Linked DNA regions of Homo sapiens: all the other regions are linked to region 5. The links are contacts of gene promoters, found by promoter capture Hi-C in blood cells and fetal thymus (Javierre and others, 2016). All regions are on one chromosome and are shown on one strand. The core of a region is centred on a gene start or on the middle of the fragment in contact, and the rest is flanking DNA. Distances in the headings are between cores, read along the strand shown.

Region 1 (4,279 bases), core at 835-3,334, 550 kb before region 5:
TGATTTTTCTTTTAAGTTCAAGCAATACTGTAAAGAAGAAAGAGATCGTAAAAGGTCATCCAAAATCCCACCACCCAGAAGAAAAACTGTTGTTATTTGGTAAACATCATCGCATACAGTTTATGAATGGACCGCAAGTCTTTCCTACCCCGGAGACCCCACAGCAAGAGCGCCTGGAGAGAGAACGGCTGTCTGCCTTCTTCCCTGAGGCATCTCCAGCATCTAGAACAGCACACGGCACAGAGGAGGTGCCGAATACATAGGCGTTGAATTAATAATAGAAGTACTTTGACAAAAATGAGATACTCTAGATCACTAGAGTATCCCTTCAAATTTTAAATTAAAATGAAGAAAAGGAAATATCAATGAAATTCAAGAGAATGCGGAACTTGATAAAAATTTGTACAGCAAAAGATGCTATTTTCTGAATATTTTTTCTACTAAAAATATATGTCAATAGGAAAAACATTGAGGTTGCATTTCTTTTTTCTTTTCTTGATTTTGGCTACATGCTCCAATGTCAAGCAGTGGCATTAAGTTCGCACTACGTAAAATGAGAAAGCCTGTGCCCCTACCTATGTTTATAATATTCCTCTGTTTCCATCACCTAGTTATTGTACTTTTTATTAGTGATTTTTAAAATTACTTGCAGTCTGTTTCCGAGCCATGAGTCTCACGTTTGTTTTGAACTACTTCAACATTTGAATGAACTCAGTGTTCATCATTAGCCTATTTCTGGCGTTCTCTCCACCTCTATGTCCTATGCTGACAGTTGCCTTTCCTGTGTCCCTGGGGTAAGATATATGAGGAGCTAAGAATGTTTACGAGGCTGCAGCAGAGCCAGCGAGAGGTGTGAAATCTTAGGTTGAGCTACCCAAGAATCAGACTCTAACACAGGGATATGTGGCCATAGTTTACTCAGGAAATGATCTCAGGAAGCACCAGGAGCAAGAAAGTGAGGCAGGGAAGAGAACGCCGATGCAGAATGCACCAACGAGCAGTCACAACTGTGAGCACCATGGCTCAGTCCTATTGGGTGTCTCTGGGAGACAGCAGAGAGCTTGACTCAGCACTGGTGGGTGAAAGAGCTGGACGTGTATCCACCAAATCCTATCTGTCATTGTCTACGGGCTGCTCCTGGACTCCAGGGCTCCTCTGGTCTGCTCTCTGCACAGGACGAGCAAGCTTCTGCTCAGACATACATGCAGGTGCTTTGGGAAGGAAGCAACAGGCCGCTGAGGGCATCTAGACAGGACATTGACAGCATCAGCTGCAGGCAGGATGCAGAGAATTTTTCCTAGGTTGCTGTTGCCTATGGGTGAGCATCATATGGGCCCTGATGGATTGCATATCATCCTGTCCCAGCCTCAAAACAACTCTTCCACTTCTGATCATTTTGGATGCAATGGGAAGAGTAACTCTAGCCTAATGGGCTCAGAGACCCTCCCCCCTTGCTAGGTGATGGTTTTCTGGGAGGAATGCTCATTTTTCAGCTTGACAGAGGGAGCCCTGAAGCCAGCTGCCACTGCAACCATGTCCCACTCATGCAGTTCCCCGTCAGTGCAAGTGGATGTCTGTCTTTCTCCTCCATTTTTATGACACTAGAAGTAATCCTTGCCAATTAGGTAAAATATAGGAAACATAAAAATATGCAAAGAAGGAAGAAAATGCACCTGGAATCTCATCAGCCAAATATAAACATTGTAATTATTTTTGTAATTTATCTTTCATATTATTTTTATTGCACATATGTTTTACATGATTGAGGTCATTTTGTACATACAGTTCTCTGCCCTATTTTTTTAACCTAATGCATCTTTGTTGTTGCTGTTATACAGGTTGAACATCCCTAACCTGAAAATCCAAAATTGGAAATGCTCCAAAATCCAAAACATTTTGAGTGTCAATATGATGCCACAAATTAAAAAATGCTACACTTGACCTCATATGATGGGTCACAGTCAAAACTCAGGCACACAACACATAGTTTCTTCAGTGTCCCCAAGGGAAAAAAGATCCTCCCAGCCCTGTTTAGCCATGATGTATCTTTTCTGAGTATGCCCAGATTTTCTCATGAAAGCAAGCACACAAAGGATAATTACCTGACATGTGTGCAGGCTGGAGGCACCAGCAGCAGATTCTCCATGATGCACCACATGGGGCCAAGACCATCATGCATTACTCATGGTTTATTTGCTTATTTTCTGCTCTGTAGTGTAAAGACATTGATGAAAATGTCAACAAGGCCTCCAGATACCCCTATGGATAAGAATGATAAGAAAAAGAGAAAGCATTTATGCTTATAGCACAGAAAGTCAAAGCTGTTGGAGAAACTAGACAATGGTGTAAGTGTGAAACGTCTTATAGAAGACTGTAGTGTTGTAATGTCCACCATATAGAACCTGAAGAAACAAGATGATAAGTCATTAAAGTTCTATGCTGAAAATGATGAACATACATTAAAAAAATAGAAAAACACTAAATTTTTAGCATCAAGCTGAAAATGAAGGTCTCAGTTATGTTTTGAAAAAAGTGGATCTCTCAGCATTGCAGTGAACACATGCCACTTAATAGTATGGTGATCGTGAAACAAGCAAACATCAATCCCAGTGAACTGCAAATCGAAGGAAACTGTGATAATTCAACAAAATGGTTGCAGAATTTGGAGAAAAGACATGACATTAAATTTTTAATGATTTGTAATGATAAAGCATCTGCTGATGATGAAGCAACAGAGAAATTAATTGATGAGTTTGCCAAGGCCATTTCCAATAAAAACCTGATGCCAGAACAAGTCTGTGAAGAAGAATATACTGAAGAAACATCCTGGTTTTTGTGTTATTGCCCAGAAAAATATTGACTATAACTGATGAGACAGCCTCTACAAAAATTAAGGATGCCAAAGACAGAATAGGTGTGTTGAGATGTGCTAATGCAGCAGGCATACATAAATGTAAACTTAGTATGATAGGCAAAAGCTTGCATCCTTGCTGTTTTAAAGGAGTGGATTTCTTACTAGTCTATTATTATGCTAGGCGCTTCCCCAGTTGAGCCTCTGATGAGAACACAGCCAAAGTCACCTGGATTTCAGCTTCATGAGAACCTGAAGTAGAGAGCCCAGCTAGGCCATGCCTAGACTCCTAACTCACAGAACCTGATGTAATACAGGCATGTTAAGTTGTTAGGTTTTGGTAATTTCTTATACAGCAATAAAAATTGTGCATAAAACTTCCAGCAATTTACCTTGAAGGGAAAGAGTGCCCCTTCTCACCTGCCCCACCCTGTCGTTGATGTGGAATGTGGATGTTATCAGTAGGGCTTAGAACAGTGCTTAATACATGTTTCACTGGAGCTATATAAGCTATATAGGCCATCTTGGGCCATGACACCTCGAAGACAGAAGCTATATACTGAGGGAGGCACACAGAAAACAGAAACTTGGGCTCCTGGTGAAACTGCTGTGTGGCCAGGCCAGCCTGGGCTGCATTCCTCTGGGCTTCATTTGCATAAGAGAGAAATAACTTTCCTCCTGTCTAGGAAACTACAACTTGGGGTTTTCTGTTACATGCAGCAACCCCTAATGCTAACTGATGCAAAGGTGAGGTGGGTTAAAAACTCAGTCTTGGAATTGGCTGACCTGGACTTGAATCCTGGTCTGCTATTTTCCATTTGGGTAAATTTCAAAATTCCCTTTACTCCTTTGAACTTGAGTTTCCTTATGTGTAAAATAGAGATAATCATAGTCTCTATTTTGTAAGTTTGTGGTAAGAATTGAAATAAATAATGTAAGTAAAGAGCTGCACACTGCACCTAGTCCAAGTGTTCAATAAATATTAGCTACTATTATTCTCATCTATAGTGTTTGTTTAATAAAATGCATGGAGTGGCTGCTAAATGCCAGGCACTATACTAAGTGGCTGGAGAAATGGCAAAATTCCTGTTCTCAAAGAGCCACAGACTTAAATGAAATATTGAGATTAAACAAATACAACAGTCTAGTAGCTCAAGTGCCATGCTGGGAGATGTGCAGGCTCTGAGGGCACCAAGAGCTCTCACAGTGAAAGGGATGGTTAAAGAAGGTTCCACATAGATTAAACTCCCTAACCAAAAGACATAGATGGACCGAACAGATATTTTTAGAATAGGATCTAATAATATGCTGCCTATAAGAGACTCACTTAAGCTCTTAAGGACACACATAGGCTGAAAGTAAAAGGATAGAGAAATATATTTTATGCAAATTGTAACCCAAAGAGAGTAGGGATAGTTTACTAATATC
Region 2 (4,547 bases), core at 1,342-3,841, 610 kb before region 5:
ACATGCAGTCCTGGTTTCTTCCCTGCAGCCAGGGAAGGGGTATAGCGGTGTTCTTGCTTTTCCATTGCAGTTTTATCCAGGGCTTTGGAAAGCGCTAAATGATACCAGCTCAGAAGCCTCTGATGGTTATGGGGAGTGCCCTGGCCTTGGAGGTGTGGCTGCAGGATGCCCCAGAGGAGAGGAGGCTGTCACAGTCCCACAACCTGTGCAGCACAACCTTGCCCTCTGCCCTGCCTCTCACGCCATCCCTAGCAGCAGCCTAGAGCATTAATATCTCTCACGCAGAGGCAGGACATTGTAGGAAACCTGACCTCTCATCCAGAGCCTTGTTTGATCAACACGGATCAACAGTCATCTGTTTCAGGGAACTCATCTCTGCCCTGGCATTAGGGGTGCAGAGGCACTAAGGGCAAGGGTGTCCTAGGCCCTGCTCATTATAAAGGCAAATGTAGTAAGACCATGGCATTCCTCTGCTCAGCCCCACCAGCAGGTTTCTATGTCACCCAGAGAAAACTTAGTCTTGACTGTGGCTTCTCTGGCCCAACACACTCTCACCCCAGCTGCATGCTCAGATTCCCCCTCACCCCCCACCCACTCCTCTCCTCCACACTGTGTCTGATCCAGCCATACAGGCCTCCTTTGCTCCACAGGGTCTGGGGCCCTATTGATGCCTGGGAGGCGCCTACCTTAGATCCTTTTACGATGCACCCCAGCCACCTTGTCCAGGGCCTGGAGAACGCAAGGACCAGCAAATATGCAGTCAATGAATGAGATGAATGGACAACCTTGATGGGCTGACGGCCCCGAGAAATGAGCAGAATTTGTGTTATCAATCCGTTTTTCCCATTGAAGGGATGGTTCGGAAGGGCTAGGTGACTTGTTCATGGTCACGCAGTGAGTAGTGTGGGACAGGCTGCTGAGAATGGAAATGTGACTCAGAGTCTGTGCTTTCTTTCTCAGTTCTCCCTCTGGACTGTTGGCCGTTTTGTTTCCCTTCATTCATTTCTGGGTTTCTTCATGACCCAAGCCTCCACTGAGCATTGAGTGTGTGCACGGGTGACAGGGTCACTGCCATAGTGAGGCTGAGTTTCCATCCTCACATTGCTCCCAGTCCAGGGAGGAGACATATGTGTGAAGAGCACAGACAGAGTGCAGCCAGGACCCTAGGGAGCCAGGAGAGGCCCCTAACTCACCCCAGGAGAGGGCAGGGCTTCCTCCAGGAGTCAGCACCAGCTGAGCCCTAGAGAATGAGTAAGAGCCATCGGCAAAGCAGGGTGGGGTGGTTTTCTGGACAGTGGGGACAGCCTGAGCAGGGACACGGAGGTAGGAGCAACTGTGACCTCTGGGTCAGTCACATTGCTTCAAGTTACAAATAACCTACTTTACCCCATAAAGGGGATTTATTCCCTCATGTAACTGAAAAGTCAAGGTGAGGGTGGGGCTGCAGGTTGAGCAGGATCAGGGATTTAGCACCATTTGTTCGGGTTGTTCAGCTCTAGTCTCTTCTACACACGCTAGCAAAATAGCCAGCAGGATGTTCCACATGTCAACAACAAGCCAGCCAGAGCAAAAGAAAGTTTCTTCCCTCCCTACAGAAGCTTGGCTGGATGAATTAAGGCACATGCCCATCCCTGGATCAATTACTGGGGTAAGAGGTGGGAACCCTCTGCCAGTCAAGTGAATTGTGAGCCTATCTGTGATGATGCAGAAGTTATTCTTACTTAAATTACAGAGCTGCTCCTTGATGGGGGCAGGTGGGGAGAGAATTGGATGGGATACCTGTGGACACCACTAGGTTATAAACAAAATCTAGGTTGTCATGAAAAGTGAAAACTGGAGCAGAGACCGGATAAAAATGACGTTGCCAACTGAGCTGCAGAGCTCAGACCTTGTCCTCCATACGTTGGGCTTCTAGTTCTGGAAGCTGTAGAGGGTTGCACCCTATGCATCTTGGGCCCTGGATGTCTTCAGAAGGGCACTGTGGATTTAATATGGTTTTGGAGCTGTCCCCCTTTCTACCAAAAGGTGATCAATCTCCTTTCAACTCTAATTTTCCTGGAAAAAAATATACCCTGCTTATTGACAATCTACACCTTGAGAATGGGGAGGAATCGATCAGATTTCTTCCATTCTTCAGCATTCCAAGCAAAGACCAAAAAGACCACGCTCCAGGGCAGACGTGCAACCACAGTTGTACCATACAGAAATCCCAAGGTGTCGGTGAGAGCCAGAGGGGTCTCCGATGGGCATTTGAGAGGTACCTGTTTGCCTTCTTCAAAAGAATACTCCCCCCTTGCTCTATATCCCTCCAGCCGTAGTAATCTGAAGACCAGTTAACAAGACAGGTGTCTGCTCCAGGGTAGAGCCCCCCAACCCCCTGTTCCTGGTCCCCCAACCCCTCCCGATGTAAGGAATCAGAGGACTGTGGATTTGGACTCGGATCCTGCTCCTTCCTTTCCTTAGGCAAGTCATCTAAGCACTTTGAGTCTCAGTTTCTTCCAAGACAAAAAGGGAAACTAATATCTAGCTGACAGTATATTCTGAGGATTATCTGAAGAGATACGTATGCATGAATATCTCATCCTCTCAGCTCTTAGTGGATCATCAGAGAATATTGATTCATTCACATGTTGAAGAAGAAAAATTAAAGTTCAGCAATGGCCTAATAGATACCAGAAGCCCAGCATACATCATTTTATCTTATCTTCATAACCATTCTATAAGTAGGGGTGTTAGTATCCCACTTTGCAGAAGAAGAAACTGAGGGTCAGGAAGGTCAAATAACTTTCCCAAGGCTCCACAGCTGGGAAATCAGAACTTGAACCTGGACCATCTAAAGCCCCTTTTTATGGAACTGAGGCCAATTGGCAGAGCTTGAATGCCCAGGTAAAAGGAACCCTGGGCCACTCTCTAAGCATACCATTGTTGTTGTGCTTGTTGCTGAAATCCAAAATCTGGAAGAGAATGAAGTAGAGAGAAAGGCAAATAACATGCATTTAACAATTCCTGTGTATATTGTACCTACATGCATCACGAGCTCTTTGACAAATGTTTGTTGAGTGTGTCAATGTGCTAGGTTCTTGTTGGAAACATGGAGGGGACACCTTCTGCATCCCATAATAACCTTGCAAAGAGATGATAACATCCATTGTATGCACGCACTCAGGCTCACAAAGGTAGATAAACCATCCAGAGCCACCTGCCAGGTTGGCATGACACCAGAAGGAAGACCACGGAATACGTCCTGGTGGAGATGTGGAGAGAAACATTTTTTATAGCAGGATCACAGAATCTCACGCTGTTTTCTTCCTCCTTTTCTTTGCAGATGACAGACAACCTTCTGTGCCTTCATCAAGCTGGTTGTGTACCCACCATGTCCCTGGCGACAGGATGGGAAAGAAAAAGCCCTAATTAAGGATCGTCAGAAACCACAGTTGGAGGAGGACGGCAGAGACAGTTTCCCTCCCCGCTATACCAACACCCTTCCTTCGAGGTCCTCGCTCCTGAGGGACCCTGGACTGTCACAGAGATTAATGACCCCTTATCTTCTTTGGATGTGAAAGGAAATCACTGGTTAAAGCTTGATCGAGAGACATTATCAGCTCTTTAAGGATTGCAGAAGAATAGGCTACTTTATTTTCTGAAAAGGTAAATATATGCAAGCAAAGCCAACATGCCACGAATGGCGTTGGTCTACCACACAGCCGTGTCTGGGACACAGTTGGGGGTCATCCCCCAGCAGGAGTGAAGTCGAGCTTAGCGGCCCTTGTGTCCTCCCTTGGAATTCCTGCCATCCCTTTTGATTGAGCCTCCACCTCTGGGATTTTTCTTCCATTTTTCTCCTCTCTTAGGAGGGAGTTCCTGCTACCCATCGTGGGAGGCCACCATCAGGACTGCGAAGATGGTGACCCTGCGGAAGAGGACCCTGAAAGTGCTCACCTTCCTCGTGCTCTTCATCTTCCTCACCTCCTTCTTCCTGAACTACTCCCACACCATGGTGGCCACCACCTGGTTCCCCAAGCAGATGGTCCTGGAGCTCTCCGAGAACCTGAAGAGACTGATCAAGCACAGGCCTTGCACCTGCACCCACTGCATCGGGCAGCGCAAGCTCTCGGCCTGGTTCGATGAGAGGTTCAACCAGACCATGCAGCCGCTGCTGACCGCCCAGAACGCGCTCTTGGAGGACGACACCTACCGATGGTGGCTGGTGAGATGCTGCCTGAGAGCGGGGTCTGGGCTGAGAGTTGGGGTGTGGACTGAGAGTGGGGTCTGGGCTGAGAGTGGGGATCTGGATAAGAGTGGGAGGCCTGGGCTGAAAGTGGGAGTCTGGGCTGAGGGTAGGGGTCTGGTAATGAGAGTGAGGTGCTCTCAGAGTTAAATGCTCAGTCCCCGTGTACACCTGGGGCCCTGCCAGGCAGTTAGTAGGATTCAGATTATTGTCCCACACTATTTATTGAGGATCTATTATATCTAAGTCAGAGCAGGAAGCACGGCTTTAGTTTCCTGTGGCTGCCATAACAAATTTCTGCACAATTCATGGCTCAAAA
Region 3 (4,768 bases), core at 424-2,923, 590 kb before region 5:
CTAGTGGCCCTGAGGGCGCCTGGACCAGATGAATGTTGGCCACAGAGAAGAAAGGGATCAGCCCTGCCCTCTGCCTCACTGCAATCATGATTCTTGGACCCATTTTCCAGATGAGGAAAGTGAGGCTCAAAGAAGTGACTTCACATGCCCAGGGCACCACGGAGTGGCAGAGCTGGGATTTGGGGCAGTTTGCTTGGCCCCAAAGCCCTGCTCTCCTTCCACTCTCTTCCATTCCACGCCCTCCTTCCTATTCCTTCCCTCTGTAGCTCCTCAATCCTGGGAGAATAGGTTGCACTTGCTGCAGAGGTAAGACCCGGGCCCCTGAGACCACCCAGATGCAGTAATCTCTCAGGGTGCTTCTGGAATTAGACTTGAGTTTTACTTAACTTGCATTTGCTTCACCAAGACTCTGAGAGTTCCAGGAACGTAGAGAAGGGTTTTTAATGAAGGGTTAGTCAGAGTCCTTGGAAATGCTGTTTATGGTCCTGTGGGATTCCAGGAACGCCTACAGGCTTCCTTTCTCAGAGGTGCCACCAGCAGCCCTGCTGTCTGGTTCTCATCTTTGCTTTGCTCCCACAGGTGGACTTGTACGGCTTCGGGGCAGACAGCAAAGGGAACTGGCACCACTACTGGGAGAACAACCCATCCGCGGGGGCTTTTCGCAAGACGGGGGTGCACGATGCAGACTTTGAGTCTAACGTGACGGCCACCTTGGCCTCCATCAATAAAATCCGGATCTTCAAGGGGAGATGACGCAGTGAAGGGCTGAGGATGGACGCACTGTCACACCTCTGCATTTCCAGCCCCAGCATCTTGCTGGAGCCGTTCCATCCCGGAGCTTGGAGGGGCAGCCTCAGGTGTGTGCCTGGGCACCGCTCACAGCCTCTTGCACCCAGCCGTTGGCAGCATCTACTCAGCAAGGTCACTAAGCTCTGCCAGCGTGGCAGAGCATGTCTTGGAACCTGTCTTGAGTGGGGACAACGTCCCCCCACTGCTGCCCTAGAGCTGGGGAGACGCTGGGAAAGGTTCAACCTCCACACACTAAAATCATTTTGGCTCCTGGGGCAAGCTTGGGGAATGAATGTGGAAGATGCCTATATTCTGAGAGACAGGACAGTTTCCCAGGAAGATGGGCAGAGACTTGAGTGGCGATTACCTCCAGCACAGAGACGTGCCAGGCGGTGTTGGCGCTCGGGGCGAGATGCTGCCCTTCTTTGCACGAAGCCTGGCCTCTTGCTTGGCGTGATAACCCTGTCATCTTCCCAAAGCTCATTTATGAGCCACCAGAGGCTCCTACCCCAAAGATTTTCACAGAAACTTGAGGCCAGGTGCCGTGGCTCACACCTGTAATCTGAACACTTTGGGAGGCCGAGGCGGGAGGATCACTTGAGCCCAGGAGTTCAAGACCAGCCTGGGCAACATAGTGAGACTCCTGTCTCTACAAAAATAAAAGATTTAAAAAAATTAGCCAGGCACGGTGGCACACACTTGTAGCCCCAGCTACTAGGGAGGCTGAGGAGGGAGGATCTCTTGTGCCTAGGAGTTCGAGGCTGCAGTGGGCTGTGATCACACCACTGCACTCCAGCCTGGGCAACAGAGTGAGACCCTGTCTCTGAAAAAAAAAAAAAAAGAAAAGAAAAAAAACCCCAAACTTGGCACCGTGTTTCTGACTCCTGCAGATGCCTCTTCCCAAGCAGTTGTTCCTTTGAGTAGTCAGTCTCATGGTTCTAATCGTGGCGAGAGCGGATCTGACCACTTCCATGTGCCTTTGTATTTGGGAAAGAAAAGCATGCATTGGCTGAAATGAAACAAAAGCCCTTACTTGGGAAAAGGGACCCCCACCAGCGGCCCTGCTTGCTCCGTAGCTGGGAACATCTTTTCTGGTTTCCTGAGCCAGCACCTGAATTGCAACGAAGCTCTGAGGATACTCAACACCACCCAGCAGTGCGTCAGAATGGAACGTACATTCTCATTCTCAGACTGTTCAATATGGTGCCCGTAACCTCCAAAGCCACACAGGAGGCTGCCAGCAGCATTTTCCCCAAGGGCCTGAGCTCAGGGTCAAGTCCCTGCTGGCCATCTTGGGGCTGTCACTGGGGGTCTGGGTCAAGGACATCCCAGGAATGGTAACTGCCACATACCTCATCTTCTTACTCCCCAGCTACTCTCTTTTCCTCATTAGCCTTCCTGATTATTTATTGATTTCTTTTTTTTATTCAACTGACATTGTTTGCACCCTGGCTCTGTTGGTGGTCCTGGTGTTTTAATGAAGCTTGCCTCACCCAGTAGCTGGGAAATTAGGTGGGGGTGCTTAAGGGAGGTTTGTAGGAGTCCTCGGACGTGGGATATTGGGGGTATCTAGGGCTTGGATGGTTTGTGGAATGTCCTCAGCATCCTCCCGTCCCAACCCAACCTTCCTTCTTCCTCATTGTGGACTTGGATTTATTCTCAGGCTAGGAGTCTCCAAAACTCCGTGAAACCTTATTGCTGCTGGGTGTGGAGTGGAGAGTGACAGGAATGTGGGGGACGGTGATTGTTGGCTCCAGTTACTAATGTTTAAGCAGAAAAACCACTTTCTTGTTGAAAATATCCCTGAAAAGGTCGCTGCTGCTTTGAGGAGGCGTGACTTTTTCCTGGTGGAGTGTGACGGAGGCATGGGGCCTGTGCTCCCAGGCTCGGGGGAGCCCCCTCTGCACACGGGGAGGGAGGAACTTGGGGACATCAGTCATGGGTCACAGGTGGCTTCAGGCCATTCACAAGAGTCCCCGGAAGTTGCGTGCCAAGTTTGGTTTTTTCCCTGAATCTCTGCATATGAGCATTTTTCTGGAGAAAGGACCATAGCTTTTATTAGATTCTCAAAGGTTCAGAATGGGGAATGTGTTAAACAAACCGAAAACCTGTTTCAGCTTTAAAATCCTCCAAAACTTTAAAGACTTTTCTTTTTTCTGAGAAAGGCTGGTAAATCACTGAGTCATCATTCAGAACATACAGCCTCGAAGGGCAGAGCTCACACCCATATATGACGTTAAGAGCTCAACAAATGTTTGTTGAGTGACTGAGTGACCCCAGGGGCAGACTCCAGATCATCAGACACTGATACAGAGAGCGATGCTATCTCCTCAACTCTCCCTCTTCTCCTAAAAGCTGAGTCTATATAGGGATGACAGGCTCAGGCTGAGCAGTCGACTTCTCTGGGTTTTGCTGTGTAAGAATAGGTCCCTCAACATGAAGATGTGTCTGCGTCTGAGCCAGATGCTGCCTGGGTCGGTTGCCTGGCCTCCGTCTGGTCTCCCTCCCTCCTACTAGGGTGGTCAAGCTGTGAGATCTCTTCCAGCCTCCAAATCCAGCTTTCCCATTTTACTGATGAGAAAATCAAGGCCACATTGCAGCTGGGTGGGGAGTGGAGCGTGACAGGCACGGGAGAGGACAGCGATTGTTGACTCTAGTTCCTGATGTTTAATCAGAAAAACCACTTTTCCTGTAGAGCACATTTCCTAAAAGGCTGCTGCTGTGTAGGGAGGTGTGGCCTTTTCCTGGTGCAGTGTGAAGGAGGGAAGTGACGGGCAGTCGTGAACTGTCTGGGACAGATAGCACAAGTCAGAGTTTGAGCAAAACTAGGGTGTTACCGGCGCTATGTTGAAATTGTCTGGAGGCGGGCTTTCCCAGCGAGTCTCCATTCAGCATCTGGAAAAAGTGTAACCAGAATGGAGGTGTCTGACTCTCCTGTGCTCTCTCAGCGCCGAGCTCTAGCTGCAGGCTGCCTGGGTGGCCTTCTCACACCCTCCCGTGCAGGAGACTGCATTTCTCTTTCCCACAGCCCAGCAGATAGCTCATTGGCTTAGCAATGGGCACTTAACAGAATCCAGTTGTTGCAGCCAGAATTAAATGCACCAGTCTGGCTTAAACCAACTGGAACTCATCCCTGGGGTGAAGGTGGCTGGGAATTAGACAAGAGTGTGTGTTAGCCAAAAGGCACATGCATGCTGTCAGCAGGAGAATGAGGAGCACTGGTTCTGGGCAGGCAGTGGCAGGGGCTCCCTCAGGCCCCTGATTCCCAGCCCACAGCTCTTTCTACTCTGCAGACAGAGTTCCTTGGAGACTGGCCCTGCATTCAGGCAGGGAGCAGAGGGGTCCCTGCCTGCAGCACCCAGAGCTGAACCTGAAGCTACAAAGATGGGCTGATGAGGTGGCCCATGAGGTGTCAGCAACATCCCAACCCCCTGGGTCTCCCCAGTGAGTCAGGGCACTGATTTGCTATAGCTGGAGCTACATGCACCTCTCCTCCCCTCAGCCACCTTTTAGGGGAGAAAGGAGGGCAGATTTGTAACCTCTGGTTCTCTGCAGGGATCCTGGGCTGGAAGAAAGTTCATAAATGGATGAATGCCTTTTAAAACTCCAGCTTTTCCAAGCATCATTCACCAAAGCATTTGGTTAGGCTTAGAGAGAAAAGCTGGATATGAGAAAATAGAATGTAAAATAGGAGGGAAAAAAAAAAAGAAGGTGGAGAGGGCAGTTAAGATCTGGGTGATTCTTTAGGGAAACGGCTGGTTGAGAGGCTTTGATGGAATCCCATTCTCTGCTGTGGCCAGAAGGTGGTGCTAGAGGCCAGTCCCACTTGGATGTGACCCTGGCCTCTGCCAGGATTCAAACCACAAAGAACATTTGGAACTGGGATGTTTGCTTTGAAGCAGCCCGAAAACAAGTGAAAGGAAACCAAGATAACTCTCTCTCCCTCCGCTGGCAAGGATCAAAAATACCTTGTGCAGGG
Region 4 (4,255 bases), core at 1,458-3,957, 520 kb before region 5:
CCCCCTCCCCCCTCTGAACATTCCTCAAGTAGTGCCCTGTGGCCATTATTCTGGGTTCTCAGGTCACCCCAAAGCTGAGTTTGTCAGAGGATGAGCTACACCTCTGTGAGTTGTCCCCCAAACCCTGGATAGTAACTACCTTGAGGTCAAAGACCATGTCTTATTCTTCTTTCCATCCTCAGACCCATGCTCCTTGCCTAACCAGTAGCATACACTCCACATGTGAGAAGTGTGGAGCGCCCCAAAGAGACAATCCTCAATGCCTTTATCACCAAGTGCCTGCCTTCGTGAGTCCTACCTGTCCTTTGGGGAAGTAGATCAGTTCTCCAGTACCCCAGAAGTCAGAACAGAGACTAGCAAGTGGAAGTTTCAAGAAATTAGATTGCAACGCAATGTAGGAAGAACATTCTAGCAGTTGATACTCTCTTTTTCATCAGATATGTTTAAGCAGAGTTGGTGGAACAGCTTTTAATAGAGATTACTAGCATATTCTTTCAACAAATATTTACTGCTACAAAATACAGGAAAATAGGGGTGTGGACCTCAGATTCTAATCAGGAGGATTCTGGAGGCATTGTTGGCTTTGTATTTCTCTGTTGTCTTTGGCACACCATCTTTCAGGACCTCTCTTGCCTCAGCTACAAAAGGAAGGGGTAGAGGAGACGTAAAAGTGAAAAGAGCTACTCACCCCACTGTGGACGTCTGTGCTAAAAAATAAAAGCAGTATTGGCAAGGCTATTTGTACCATGTGTCTATTGTAGCAAGGTTTATGTTAGCTGAAAAACAACTAGAAACCTTCTCAGTACAGCAATAGGACAATTATTGAATGAATTACGATGTATAATTGGCTTATCTGTATTTTAAGAGGAGATGGGACCTAAATTTCTGGTCAGTTCTTTCATTACCATTTGTTGGAGTTCAGGTTTTCAGGCTCTTTCTGGGCTAGAGAGTTCTTTCCCGGCTATCTTGCGGCAATTTGAAAGTCTGATATCAGTTTCCGCTGGGTTCCAAAGATCCAGGAGGAGCTTAGTGCTGTGTCTAGATTGCCAATGGACCCATCACAGAAGTTTAACCCAACTTTGATCCCAAAGCCTTCAAAAATGCTCACTGAAGAAAATTCCCAGGACAATTCAGGGCCTCTCATAACTTCTGCTCCGAGACATTGATAAAGAACCTTAAACTTGATTCTCAGCTCTGGTATCAAATTCCCTTCCTCTCTACCAGAAGGTTCACTCCAACAATAGGAGAAAAGAGAAATGATCTTCCAGGACATCAGAGATGGCTTACCTTACAGGAGGAGGGAGTAAGAACATTGCTGTCTGTATGGAAAGAAATGATGCTAAAATGTAGATACGTGTCACTTAGCAGGCTTCCTAGGCTTGAAAGAAAACAAACACTGGGCTTAAGGGAGTTCAGAATGATCAAGAAGTGAACCATTCAAATGTGGCTGTGGTTTCTATGTGTATCATAGATGGGATTCTTCTGAGAATGCTAGAATAGGGAATTATGGCACTGAGCCAATTCAGCCAGAAAGCTTATTCTCATACTTTTCTTTCTTGCTGGCAATTTTATGTAGCAGGTTGAGAAAGCTACTCTATGCTAGAATGGATTGTATACAAATAATTTTGATAATGAGTTCTATGATATATTTTTCTTCTTTTTTTTCCTTCCTACCATGAAATCAGTAATGTATGTAGTGTATGTAGTTTGAATGTATTTGGATAACCTCAGTATACTTTACCTTTACTCACTGTTTTGACCCGAAGAAATACGAAAAGGACATAAGTATTCCCATGTATTTTAGAAGGCTAAAGTCAGTGAGATGAAACCCAATATCAAGAATTTGATGCAAAGTAACTTGTGGGGAAAGAATGTAATGAAAACATTGGGTAGTTTGGCTAGAGCATAATAATTAGATTTTCCGGTTTTCAAAAATTTGGATACCAATGAAAGGAAATTTGATGTGCTATTTTTTTTTTTGCAATATTCAGTATCAAATAAATGTGTGTATAGAGAAACAATAAAATTGACATATTTGAGTAACTTAAAAAAAATAAACTACGATGCATCCATACTATAATTTTATAGCCTAATGTTAAAAGGATTAGGTTAGAAATCTACATACCCTGATCTGGGAATTTTACCTTGATATGTATATTACTAAGCAATGAAAAAGTATGGTATAGAGCATGATACCATTTTATACAGGTGTGTACATAAAAATATCTTTGCTATGAACATAAAAAAACGTGTAGAAAAACGCAATTGTTAATGCCTGTTATGTCAAGAGGGGGGACTAGAAGGAAAAGACGTGTCATCAGTTATAATTAGATTCAGGTTCCTACAACAGAAATCCCCAAAATAAGTGGCTGAGTAAAGAGGAAGTTTAGTTTTCTCTTGTAAAGGAAGTTCAGAAATAGATGGTCCTGAACTAATATGGCTGTAGCTCTAGGTCATCACTCAGGCTCTGTCTGCCTTTCTATTCCACTGCCCTTAACCACGGCCTTCCATCCTCAAGCCACCTGTGGTCTAAGATGACAGTCAGTGCTTGCAACATCATGCCCGGGCAGGAGCATGGAAGAAATAGTTTATGCCTCTTTTAGGGAGCTATCCCAGAAGTCCCACCAACCACACCTAACTGCAAAGGAAACTGGGAAATGTAGTTTTATTTTAGCTGGCCACAGTAACTGTGTTACATTGTATTGTATCATGTTGTATGCTACAGCGTTTGGGCAGCCCAGATAATATAAGAGTTTTATTACTAACCCAGAAATGGATAATGGATGTTGGATGGCCAAATAGCATTCCCTGCCACAAAAAGTTTATCAACTTTTTTTTGAAACAGACTTTCTACTGTTTAGCTAAATACAATGAAAAGTATTTCACAATTTAAAAAATCCAATTAGGAAAGTTTCTTAAAAGAGAGGAAGGAAATAACTTTGTATAAAAGCACTTATCATGAGCCAAGCTCATTTCCTGAGCATTTCACATGCAATCTCATTTCACCCTCACATGATCTCATGGAGAGGTGTGACTGCTCCTTCCCTTTCACAAGAGGAGGAGCCAAGATTCAGAGGGATGACACGGCTTTCCCAAAGTCTTGTCACCAAGAAGCACAGCCAGTATTGAAATCCAGGTGCGCGTGATTCTAAATCCTGTGGGGGCAATCTCTAGGGTCATTTTCAGGAGGGAGGAAAAAAACAGCAATTCATGTATGATTCTAGAATCCCAGATTTGATGGAGGCTATATTCCCTAACCAGATCATTAAGCTGAGAACAGGAAAGTGAATACTGGTGCTTCTCCAGCTGCCTGATCTCTGATGGATATTATCCAGTGGGTAGGCTTACCATGCCAGCCTATTTTTCTCCTTAAGATGTATTCATTTCCCAGCAACATGAATCCATCTTTCTTTCCTTTTTTTCTTTCTTCCTTCCTTGATTCATTTTGTTATTTTTCATGCAAACATACTTACTCATGCAGAGAAAAGGAGATGAAATTTTTTTAAATTCTTTTTTCTTCATTTCTTAACTAATTTAATCTAACTTCATAAGAGGAAGAAGAATAAGCTCAGGGTCTTACATAAACACTGAGCTCCTCTTGGATTTTCATGAGGGTGAATTTATGAGGAAATCATGGAAGGAACCTACAGAATAATATTATCCCAATCAAGATGCAGTCTGCTGCCTGCTGCCTGCTGCCTGCTGTGTGGGGAAACATGAGTGCCTTGGGTATTTTCCTTACAGCACTTACAATTTTAGACAGGACAGAAACAGATGCAAGAAGATATTGCATTCCTTCGTCCTGAGCTAACCTGGGGCTGGATTCTTAGTCTCTCTATACCACCAGAGATACACTGTAGTCCCTGAAACACAAGCTTTTCTCAGAAATACATGAGCTCCCCTCCATGAAGTCTGCTCCATATTAGATCTCTGTTTGTCCCCTCTAAATCCCAACCAAGGCTGTAGTCCTCTCCTCTGGAGTCGCAGAGAAGAAGGCAGAACTTCTTCCCCTCAAGGGTCCATCAAATATTAGCACACAGCTGTCATGTCTGCCAAAGTACATTCTCTAGTGGCTTGGGAGCGTGGAAAGGAGGCAGCCTGACCTGGGGTAGAATCCCAACTTTACTCCCTGCCTGTGGGACCTTGGGTCGATTTCATGCCTCTCCTGATATTTCATCATCTGTCAAAAGGAGAAAGTGAAATTATAGCTTCATTTTTCCTTCTCCAGTAGAGCATAAGTCCTTCAAGGGCCAGG
Region 5 (4,641 bases), core at 1,226-3,725:
CAAGTGTCCTCAGGCATTATGAGGCTGCAGAGGGTAAAGGCAGTGCCCACATTGTATGGATAGGGAGTGGGGGCTTGGGGGTGGGATGTTAGTGGGATCAGGGGCCAGCAGGGTATATTGGGAAGCACATGGGTGGGGTCAGGCCAGGCCATAGAGTTGACTCCCCAGAAATGATGACTGAACTGAGACCTGCAGGATGGTCAGAGGTATAAGAAGGTAAAAGATATTCCAGGTAAAGGGAACAGCATATGCAAAGCCTCCTGAAGAGAGGCCAGGTTTGAAACTGCAAGAGGCCAGAACAAGAGAGTTGGGAATGGGAATATAAATAAGGCTGGTGAAAGTGAGACTTCCTCCTTAACTCCTTCCTTGCTGTTCCAGAATTCCCAGTGATCTAAGCAGGGACTGCTCTAGCAGCATCTCTGCACACTCGTGGGAGGTTAGGCACATTAAGAGTGTACATAAGATAGCAGCAGGGAGGGAGGTTTCACAGACATTTCCCAGAACGCAGTTATATAAATGGAGTTCCCCTGATTCAACATGACTGGAATAGCACAAGGAAATTTCAATGCATGCACATTGCAAAGGATTCCTGTCTATTCTGCAGGGAAGAATTGTCTAGATTATTACCACACTCTCCACAGAGAGGGTCTCAGGCCCCAAGTCTGCATTAGGGCAGCTGGAGAAACCCCTTTCAGAGAGCAGCTCAATGTGGAGACAGCGACCCAGAAGCCCAGAGGCAGCCTAGAGAGCTAGTCCGGGCAGGGTCGGTGGCAGCTAAGGACTAGGAAGTCAAGGCAGCCTCTGCTTCCACCACCCCAGCTTCTCAAGAGGATACTTGGAGGAGGGAGAGGTCCCAAAGCACAGATCATTTGACACTCTCCTCAACCTGCCCCACTCCCCACACGTGCCGTTTATTCAAGCCATCACAGAAAAAGTGATGGCAAGAAGAGAAGGGAGGGCAGTGGGAGGATGAAGCATGGATTGGGGTTCACTTGGTCAGATTGTCCAGTGTTGAACAGCTTGGGGAACTGAAAGGCAGGCACCTCCAAATGACAGTGGAACTGAAAGGCAGGCACCTCCAAATGACAGTGGCCAAGCCTCACATGCACAAAGGAGTTGCAGGGCAGAGCTCAGGAAGAGGGGGGAAGGCACAAGATGCTTTTTATGGCATCTTGGACCTTGAGAGTTCGCTGCTGACATAAGCCTTACTGGAAGCTGCCATCCTCTGCACACTGGGGCACGTAGTCTGCTTGCTTCAGAAAGGCCGTTTCCCTCTGCAGCTCACAGGGACGAAGGGGCTGGGCATCCACCTGGTACTCTAGGAAAAGAAAAGTGGTTCATCAAAGAAGAGTGTGGACTGGGCTGCCAGGACAGAGACGGGCTCTCATAAGCACAGATGCTTTTCCAGGGTCATCATCATTACCTATGACAGCCTATTTTAAAATTTGGCAGCTAAGCACACTTTCTTACAAGTATGACATTAGCTCATTTAATGTGCAACATTCTCCTAAGAGGTGACAGGCAATATATCCTTGTCACTCATGAGGCACCAAGTCTCAGGCAGCGAAAGTCGTCTGCCCAAAGTCACGTAACTGGCAAGTGAAGGATCCCAAAATCAACGCTGGGACTACACGTTCCCCGCCCGCCCCCACCCTGCCGCAATTCCCATGAGGCTATTTGGAGTAAGTTAGAGAACCGTAAGGAAGTTCTTCTTGAATCTATCAAGCCATGCCCTGCAGATGTAACATGTTCCAGATAAACATTGAAATACCAATTAATTAATAATGTACATGACTTATTTTTCCATTGAGAACTCTTGTAACACATAGGGTCCTACCCAGAAATCACAACCGCATCATGAGGTGTGTGTTATTTGTTTACTTTTTAAATGAAAAAAAAAAAAAAAAAACAGAAGCTTGGCACTTTGCCCGAAGTCATATGGGTAAGTGGCTGAGCCAAAGACAGAACTTAGGGCTATTTCACTTCATAGGTAGATTTCTTTTTCTACTGCTTCTAAAATACCTGTTATGGATGACACAGACTTTGGAATAGCTAAGGGGATAAAAACCCAAGGTCAATGCCAAAAGTTTGCCAAAATGGTGGGGTGAGGAGGACCTAGAATTGAATTAGGAAGATCAACCACATTTCCCATTTCTGCTCCATCAATCACTAGCTCTGTGACCTCAAGTAATTCAGTTCGGCTCTCTAAATCTGCCTCTTCATCTGAAAAAAAAAAAGCAAATCACTGACATGTGGGAATTTGTGAAGATTAAATTAGATCGCACCTGTTCGAAGGCCCAGGGCAGAGCCTGGCTGACACTGGAGCTCCCTCCCCACCGCCTGGCTCCATGGCCTCAGAACTTACCGAAGATATTGGCCGACACCCAGCAGATGGAGGCCAGCAGGGTGAAGATCTCCAGGACCAGGGCCATTTTCCTGGCCCTTCCTGGGAGGAAGGAGGAGAAACCACTGCTTGCCCTAGGTCCCCTGGCCAGGGAGCTTTTATAGAGCTGCCGTTGGCACTTTCCTTCCCACCCCCAGGTCCTCAGTGAGGCAGTGCCCCATCCTGTTTTCTCTGCTGGTCAAAAGGAGCTCCCTCCACCTGTGTCTACTCCTCCTGAGGGCACTCGTGTGGCCAGTGGAGCATGAGGATCTTGTCTAAACTGTGGGGGAACAGAACGGGGTGGGGTGACTTCAAAATCCTTTTTTATGGGTAAAGACCAAAGCTCTGTATCTTTGGAGGGAACAGGCTCAAGCCCACAGTGAGGGAAAAGCAATCCTTTGTTCTTTCCTTCCCCACCCTACCCTTTCTCCTTCTCCTTCCTCCTTCCTTCTTTCCTTTCTTCCTTTCTTTCTTCTTTCCTTCCTTTCTCCCTTCTATCCTTCTTTCCTTTCATTCTTCCTTCTTTCTTTCCTTCCTTCCCTCTTTCTTTTCTTTCTTCCTTCTTTCCTTCCTTCCTTCTTTTCTTTCTTCTATTCTTTCTCTAACAACCTCTTAGAGCTCCACAGTAGCAGGCACCTAATCTAGACAATGAGGATATGGCAGAGAACAAAACAGGCAAAATCGTGCCCTCATTAATATAGACTGTGAAAACTTTGGTGAGGGAAGCAAAATACACACACACTCATATTCATATTTCTATTACTTTCCTCTCTTTCCTAGGACCTCAGACTTTGTCAACCAAAAGATAGCAGGAACTGTGTATTCCACAGAAAGCCTGTATGTCCATTTGGTTTCTCCTGGCAAACATGGCTTCCTTCCTTCAGTCCTGTTCCTGTGAGACCTGGAAAAACTCACCTCATCTCCCTGAGCCCCAGCCTCCTTCTCTGGAAAGCAAAGTTAAAAGGAGAATAATAATATGTCCCTATTTGTTAAGGTAGTTGTAAGAGAATAGACATTGAAGAGCACATGCTTATTAGACACTAGCAGTTATTATTATTATTATTGATTTTCTTATTTTGCAAAAGCATCATGCCAGGGAATGGCAAGTATTCAGAAGACCAATCCAGCCAGGTAAGGAGCTAGTGACAGATAGGGTCAGGAACTGGCAGGTAATGAGGGCAGGTTGCTGAGCCTGGCACCTGAGGAGAGATGGAGGGACCTGTGAGAATCTGGAGGATATGGTCCCGGGTAGAGTGAAGGGCAGGAGGACAAGCTGGAAAGTGGAAGAGACTCCAAACCCTGGGGAAAATAAAGGGGCCGATATAGCTGCCGTGCCGTAGACTGTACTACCTTCCACAAATAGGGTTGCTATGAATATTAAATGTGTTAAAATATGCAAAGTGCTTAAAACAGTATTTGACACATAATAAGTATCCAGTGTTAGCTACTGTACTAGTCTGCTATGGGTGTCATCACAAACTATCACAGACTGGGTGGCTTAAGTAACAGAAATTTATTTTCTCATAGTTCTGAAGGCTGGAAATCCAAGATCAAAGTGTCAGCACTGTTGGTTTCTTTGGAGACTCCTCTCCTGGGCTTGCAGATGGCCATCTCCTCCCTGTATCCTCACTTGGTCTTCCCTGTGTGTGTTTGTGTCTTAATATTTATTTCTTTTAAGTACACCAGTCATATTGGATTAGAGCCCATCCTTGTGACCTCATTGTGCACTTAATTACCTCTTTAAAGACCCTACCTTCAAATGCGGTCACATTCTGAGGTCCTGGTTTTAGGACTTCAGCATATGGATTTGGGGGGAGAACACAATTCAGTCCATAACAGCTACTGTCATCATTGTTGGGTTCCTGATATAAACTAGAGAAAGTAAAACACAACAGTCATTTGAAGTGTCAGGGTATGGGATTAAAAACAGGGGAGAACCCGTGCTCTGCCCGTCCTTCTTGGGGACCACACATGCCTGGAACTCCCACATCTCTCTCTAGCTCAGTCTCCAGCCAGACTTTTTTGAGCTCAGATCCACTCTGCCTGGACACCCTACAGGTATTTCAAATTCAACATATCCCAACCTGAACTCCTCAACCTTTCTCCTGACATCACCCCATTGGCTGTCTCTGTGATAGTAAATCCGAGCCCCATCCTAGGCTTCTCCCCTCAAGTCTTACCAGCCTCCAGGTCCTACCAGGCTGCTGCTCATTTCTACTTCCTTGGTCCTCCCCTCCTCTGCATCCTCACTCTTCCTG
Region 6 (4,233 bases), core at 1,390-3,889, 570 kb before region 5:
TCCACAGCAAGTAAAAACATTGTTCGCCTCATCCTACAATGAGGCCCTGATGGAGCAAGGCTACAGGCGCCAGGGGTCCGGCACTGCACATGGAGAAGGAAGTGCGCCAAGACATCCCCAGGCCCTCCCCATCTCAGTTCAGGCCAGACTCCATCATTGCTCGGTTGCTTAAGCCACGAGGACTTGCCTTGAGTCCACTTTCTCCCACCAACTCCCAAACTTCAATCCATCCCTATAATCTATGAGATCATCCTCCACAAGATGCCATGTGGTTTTCTCTCACTGTTCCAGCCCATTGCCGTTTTCTGTCTTACCTGTCCTGTGCCAGCGCATGAGGTTCTTGGTACCTCACCTCAGTGCATAGTATGCTCTCGGTGGATATCTGTTCCCTCCCTTAGATGATGGAAATAGGGATTCAGAGGGTTGTTGTGAGGATGAAGTGAAGAATGGTCGGTGCTTGTTGCATAGCGAGCACCAAGCTCACTATGTGGTGGCGGTGGAGGTGGCAGTGGCAGCAGTGACATTGTTCATGAGATGAAAAATGAAAAAAAAACAAGACTCAGAAGGCTCAATAACTTCCCAAATTCACAGAGCCAGTGTGTGGCAGGGCTGTGAGCAAGACCACATCTGCTGGATCTCAAAGCCCAGGTGTCTTCCAGCAGCATAGCGGAACCCCAGCAGAAGCAGAAGATGGAGGTATAGCTGACATCTTCTCTTTCTCTCTGGAGCCCACATGTGACCAGACTTGGTAATCCAGGGTAGTGGGATGCCACAGGGGTTGGCAAGCATTTCGTTACCCCAACAGAAGAGGCAGAGGAGGAAATAGGCTGCATGCTTCCTGAGCTGGGCCTGGTGGGGGGTGGGGCGAGGGCAGCAGTATTCGGGTGATCTCAATTCTGTCCTGTGTGAATGGACTGGATGGACAAGAGCCCATTGGCTTGAGGACAGTGGAAAGGAGGCTGGAGAGCTGTCAGCTAAGAAGGGGACTTGCCTCCTGCAACCACCAACAACCTCCCTGCACATGAGTGCCTCAGTCTTGGCTGCAACCTCTGGGGTAGATAACAGTTGGTTTGGCCCTTACCTGAGGATTCAGATGCCCCACAAGAACCTGGGGATAGCTACCACATCTATTCATTCCAGCCAAGTTCATTGGTCTCAGCACTGTAATAGCTGTCAGAGGCTCTTACTGCCCTGATAAAATCCTTGCATTCTCCCAATGGAGATGGCCAAACTAGCCACCAGAAGACAGTGTGACAAGTGACCAAGGAAGAGTACAGAGCCTGAGTTTGCCTAGAGAAGTCATGGAGGACTTCCAGGAGGAGGAGGACTTCCAGGAGGAAGAGGCCATTAGGCTGACATGTGAGGGATAAGAGTTAGCCAAGCACGGAATGGGGAAGAGAGTGTGCCAGGCAGAGGGAAGAGCACTGTGAAGTCCCAGTGCTGAGGGAGAGTAGGGCACAATCACAAGGCAGATGATCTTCGTACCAGTGACCCTGGGAACAAGGGAAGCAGTGGCAAAAGATGGGAGCAGGGGTGCAGGATCCAGGCCCCTTTGGGTCTTTTAGGAAAAATGGGCTTTATCCCAAGAAAACTGGGGGCCACCAAAGGGTGCAGAGTGAGGCCAACAGGGAAATCTTAAGGGCCATCACAAAGAAAAACATTGGAGTGGTAGTTGAACGTGTATTTGAATAACATGCACATTTTAAAAATGTCTTTGCATTCTTGCTCTCAGTTAAGCAACATCCCACAAGGAGCAACTAAGTCAGCACGGGCTCTGGCAGTGAAATATCTGCCTCCACTCCACCCCGAGACTTAGGATGAGGGAGCCCAGGTGCAGTGTCCAGCCTACTTCTCACACTCTCCAGACAGTCTGACTCGTATTGGGATTAAGGGAGGAAGCATGTGTCTCCCCAGATGGCCTGGAGATCCTGCAAAACCAGGACTACCCTGGATCCCCAGAGATGAGGGGAGAGACCGGTTCAGGCACATAATGTGTGTGAGGAATTGAACTGGTTTGGACTGAATCAATTTATAATAGAAAGGCCCGGCCGGGCGCGGTCACTCATGCCTGTAATCCCAGCAATTTGGGAGGCTGAGGCGGGTGGATCGTTTGAGGTCAGGAGTTCGAGATCAGCCTGGCCAACATGGTGAAATCTCATCTCTACTAAAAATACAAAAATTAGCTGGGCATGGTGGCACATGCCTGGAATCCCAGCGACTTGGGAGGCTGAGGCAGGAGAACCACTTGAACCCAGGAGGCAGAGGTTGCGGTGAGCTGAGATCATCCCATTGCACTCCAGTCTGGGTGACAGAGTGAGACCCTGTCTCAAAAAAAAAAAAAAAAAAAAAAAGGAAGGAAGGAGAGAGAGAGAGAGAGGGAGGGAAAGGAAGGAAGGAAAGAAGGGAGGGAGGGAAAGAAAGAAAGAGAGAGAGAGAGAAAGAAAGAAAGAAAGAAAGAAAGAAAGAAGGAAGGAAGAAAGAAAAAGGAAGGAAGGAAGGAGGGAAGGGAAGGAAGACCCAAGTTCAAGTTCAAGCTCTGGGGCTTTTTTTTTTTTTTTTGTCACAAAGACTTGGTCAGGGGTTAGCTGCACTCCCAGGTTCAATGCCCCCCTCCCCCAGGTGGGCAGTGGGCACCCAATAGCTTCGAGGACGGCCAGCTCTATTGTTCAAAAGAGGGCAGTCTGAGATGCCTCACCAATAGCCACCTGGGCATCCCAAAAGAGCCCAAAAGCTCCAGAAGTTCTAACTGGATTCTCTTACAGAAATACAAGGCCATTCCTCTTTCTTTTTGAAAAAAGAGAGAGAGAAAGAAAAGAAAAAGAAAAGAAAGAAAAAGAAAGAGAAAGAAAGGAAGAAAGAAAAGAAAGGAAAGGAAGAAAGAAAGAAAAAAAGAAAGAAAGAAAGAAAGAGAAAGAAAGAAAAGAAAGAAAGAAAGAGGAAAGGAAAGAAAGAGAAGAAAAGAGAGAAAAGGAGAGGTGAGGAGGGGAGGAGAGAGGAAGGGAGGGAAAGCCTGGAGGGCGGGAGAGTTAAGAACCCAGTAGGTGGTTCCTTCTTCCCCCCTCCTTATATATGCAGGTGTATTTTAACAGAATTGCAATAATAGAGGGTGATGTATTTTTTGGATTTTATTTATTGGCTTGTTATTCTATAACCATTACTCTCCACACTGAAACATTTCCCAATCCCCTTCAACAGCAGTGAGCACCTTCATCTAGGAGATACACCTTATTGAACATTCACTGTGCACTGCACTGCATGTGGTGTTATGGAACACAGAGAGAGGCCCTTGGTCCTGGCAGTCAGGGAGTCGGGGGGTTGGTGGGTGCTTAGTGGGGGAACATTATCATTGAATGAACAAGCCTGATAGGAAGGGGGCAGGATGCCTCAGGGACCCAGAAGACACCTCTCACTGCTAGAGGAAGCCCAGGCTGATGGAAGGAGACAGAAGGGCTGGGTGAGATGGGAAGACAGCAGTAGTTAGCCAAGTGAAGAGGCCAGAGAAGGATGTCCAGGCAGGCAGAAAAACACATGCAAAGCCCTTCTGCTCCTTCATTTCCGCCTCTTTAAAGTAAAAATGACTGTACCTCCAGAATAAATTATAAAATACATGTAAATGTTTTGGGAGGCTGAAGCAGGAGGATCACTTGATCCCAGGAGGCTGAGGCTGCAGTGAGCCATGATCATGCCACTGCACTCTAGCCTGGATGACAAAGTGAGACGCTGTCTCAAAAAAAGAAAAAGAAATAGAAAGAAAGAGAGACAAGAAAGAGAGAGAGAGGGAGGGAGGGAGGGAAGGGAAGGGCATGTAAAGCTCTTAGCACAGTTGCTAGAACATAGCTAGTGTCCTAAATAAATAAATAACAAACAGTAAGTAAGGCAATACAAAAGCTACTACTACACAACTTTTTAAAATTATTTCTAACTAGCATTATAAATCATTTTTTAAAAGACAACCTGAAGAATGGGAGAAAATATTTGCAAATCATAATAAGGGCCCAATATCCTGAATACATAAAGAACTCTTGAAACTCAACAATAAAAAGGCAATTCAAAATGGGCAAAAGGTGTCAATAGTCATTTCACCAAAAAAGATATATAAATGGATGACAAGTAATTAAAAAGATGTTCAACATATGAGTCATTAGGAAAATACAAATCAAAACTACACTGAGGTAACACTTCACACCCACTAGAATAGCTATAATAGAAAAGATGGAAACTAACAAGTGTTGG

The links. Contacts are between HindIII fragments. The CHiCAGO score rates a contact against its expected background, and 5 or more counts as called.
Region 1: a contact is called between a fragment that was not itself captured here and the fragment with the promoter of TG in region 5, in 4 of 17 cell types (activated CD4 T cells, total CD4 T cells, total CD8 T cells and 1 more). The highest score is 8.0, in activated CD4 T cells.
Region 2: a fragment that was not itself captured here is called in contact with the fragment with the promoter of TG in region 5 in 14 of 17 cell types (activated CD4 T cells, non-activated CD4 T cells, M0 macrophages and 11 more); the score reaches 11.0 in activated CD4 T cells.
Region 3: a contact is called between a fragment that was not itself captured here and the fragment with the promoter of TG in region 5, in 16 of 17 cell types (activated CD4 T cells, total CD8 T cells, naive B cells and 13 more). The highest score is 29.0, in activated CD4 T cells.
Region 4: a fragment that was not itself captured here is called in contact with the fragment with the promoter of TG in region 5 in 1 of 17 cell types (non-activated CD4 T cells); the score reaches 5.1 in non-activated CD4 T cells.
Region 6: a fragment that was not itself captured here is called in contact with the fragment with the promoter of TG in region 5 in 17 of 17 cell types (naive CD8 T cells, naive B cells, activated CD4 T cells and 14 more); the score reaches 20.3 in naive CD8 T cells.

The regions. Positions count from the first base shown.
Region 1 is chr8:133,413,044-133,417,322 of GRCh38, reverse strand. No RefSeq gene overlaps it. Among named protein-coding and RNA genes, the nearest start is that of NDRG1, 120 kb to the right of the region's middle. The HindIII fragment of the contact is 1,793 bases long and covers 1,188-2,980 here.
Region 2 is chr8:133,475,379-133,479,925 of GRCh38, reverse strand. It overlaps ST3GAL1 (ST3 beta-galactoside alpha-2,3-sialyltransferase 1), which reads left to right. Exons shown (of 10, transcript NM_173344.3): 4 at 3,326-3,648; 5 at 3,852-4,207. The coding sequence starts at 3,902. Among named protein-coding and RNA genes, the nearest start is that of ST3GAL1-DT, 93 kb to the left of the region's middle. The HindIII fragment of the contact is 1,982 bases long and covers 1,601-3,582 here.
Region 3 is chr8:133,455,749-133,460,516 of GRCh38, reverse strand. It overlaps ST3GAL1 (ST3 beta-galactoside alpha-2,3-sialyltransferase 1), which reads left to right. Exons shown (of 10, transcript NM_173344.3): 10 at 580-4,768. The coding sequence ends at 753. Among named protein-coding and RNA genes, the nearest start is that of ST3GAL1-DT, 110 kb to the left of the region's middle. The HindIII fragment of the contact is 1,203 bases long and covers 1,072-2,274 here.
Region 4 is chr8:133,389,485-133,393,739 of GRCh38, reverse strand. It overlaps the pseudogene DPPA3P7. Among named protein-coding and RNA genes, the nearest start is that of NDRG1, 94 kb to the right of the region's middle. RefSeq lists an enhancer at 2,514-2,733. The HindIII fragment of the contact is 2,341 bases long and covers 1,537-3,877 here.
Region 5 is chr8:132,864,792-132,869,432 of GRCh38, reverse strand. TG (thyroglobulin) reads right to left here and starts at 2,475. Exons shown (of 48, transcript NM_003235.5): 1 at 2,366-2,475; 2 at 1,210-1,318. The coding sequence starts at 2,432. The HindIII fragment of the contact is 3,355 bases long and covers 1,918-4,641 here.
Region 6 is chr8:133,439,672-133,443,904 of GRCh38, reverse strand. No RefSeq gene overlaps it. Among named protein-coding and RNA genes, the nearest start is that of ST3GAL1-DT, 130 kb to the left of the region's middle. The HindIII fragment of the contact is 5,719 bases long and covers 1-4,233 here.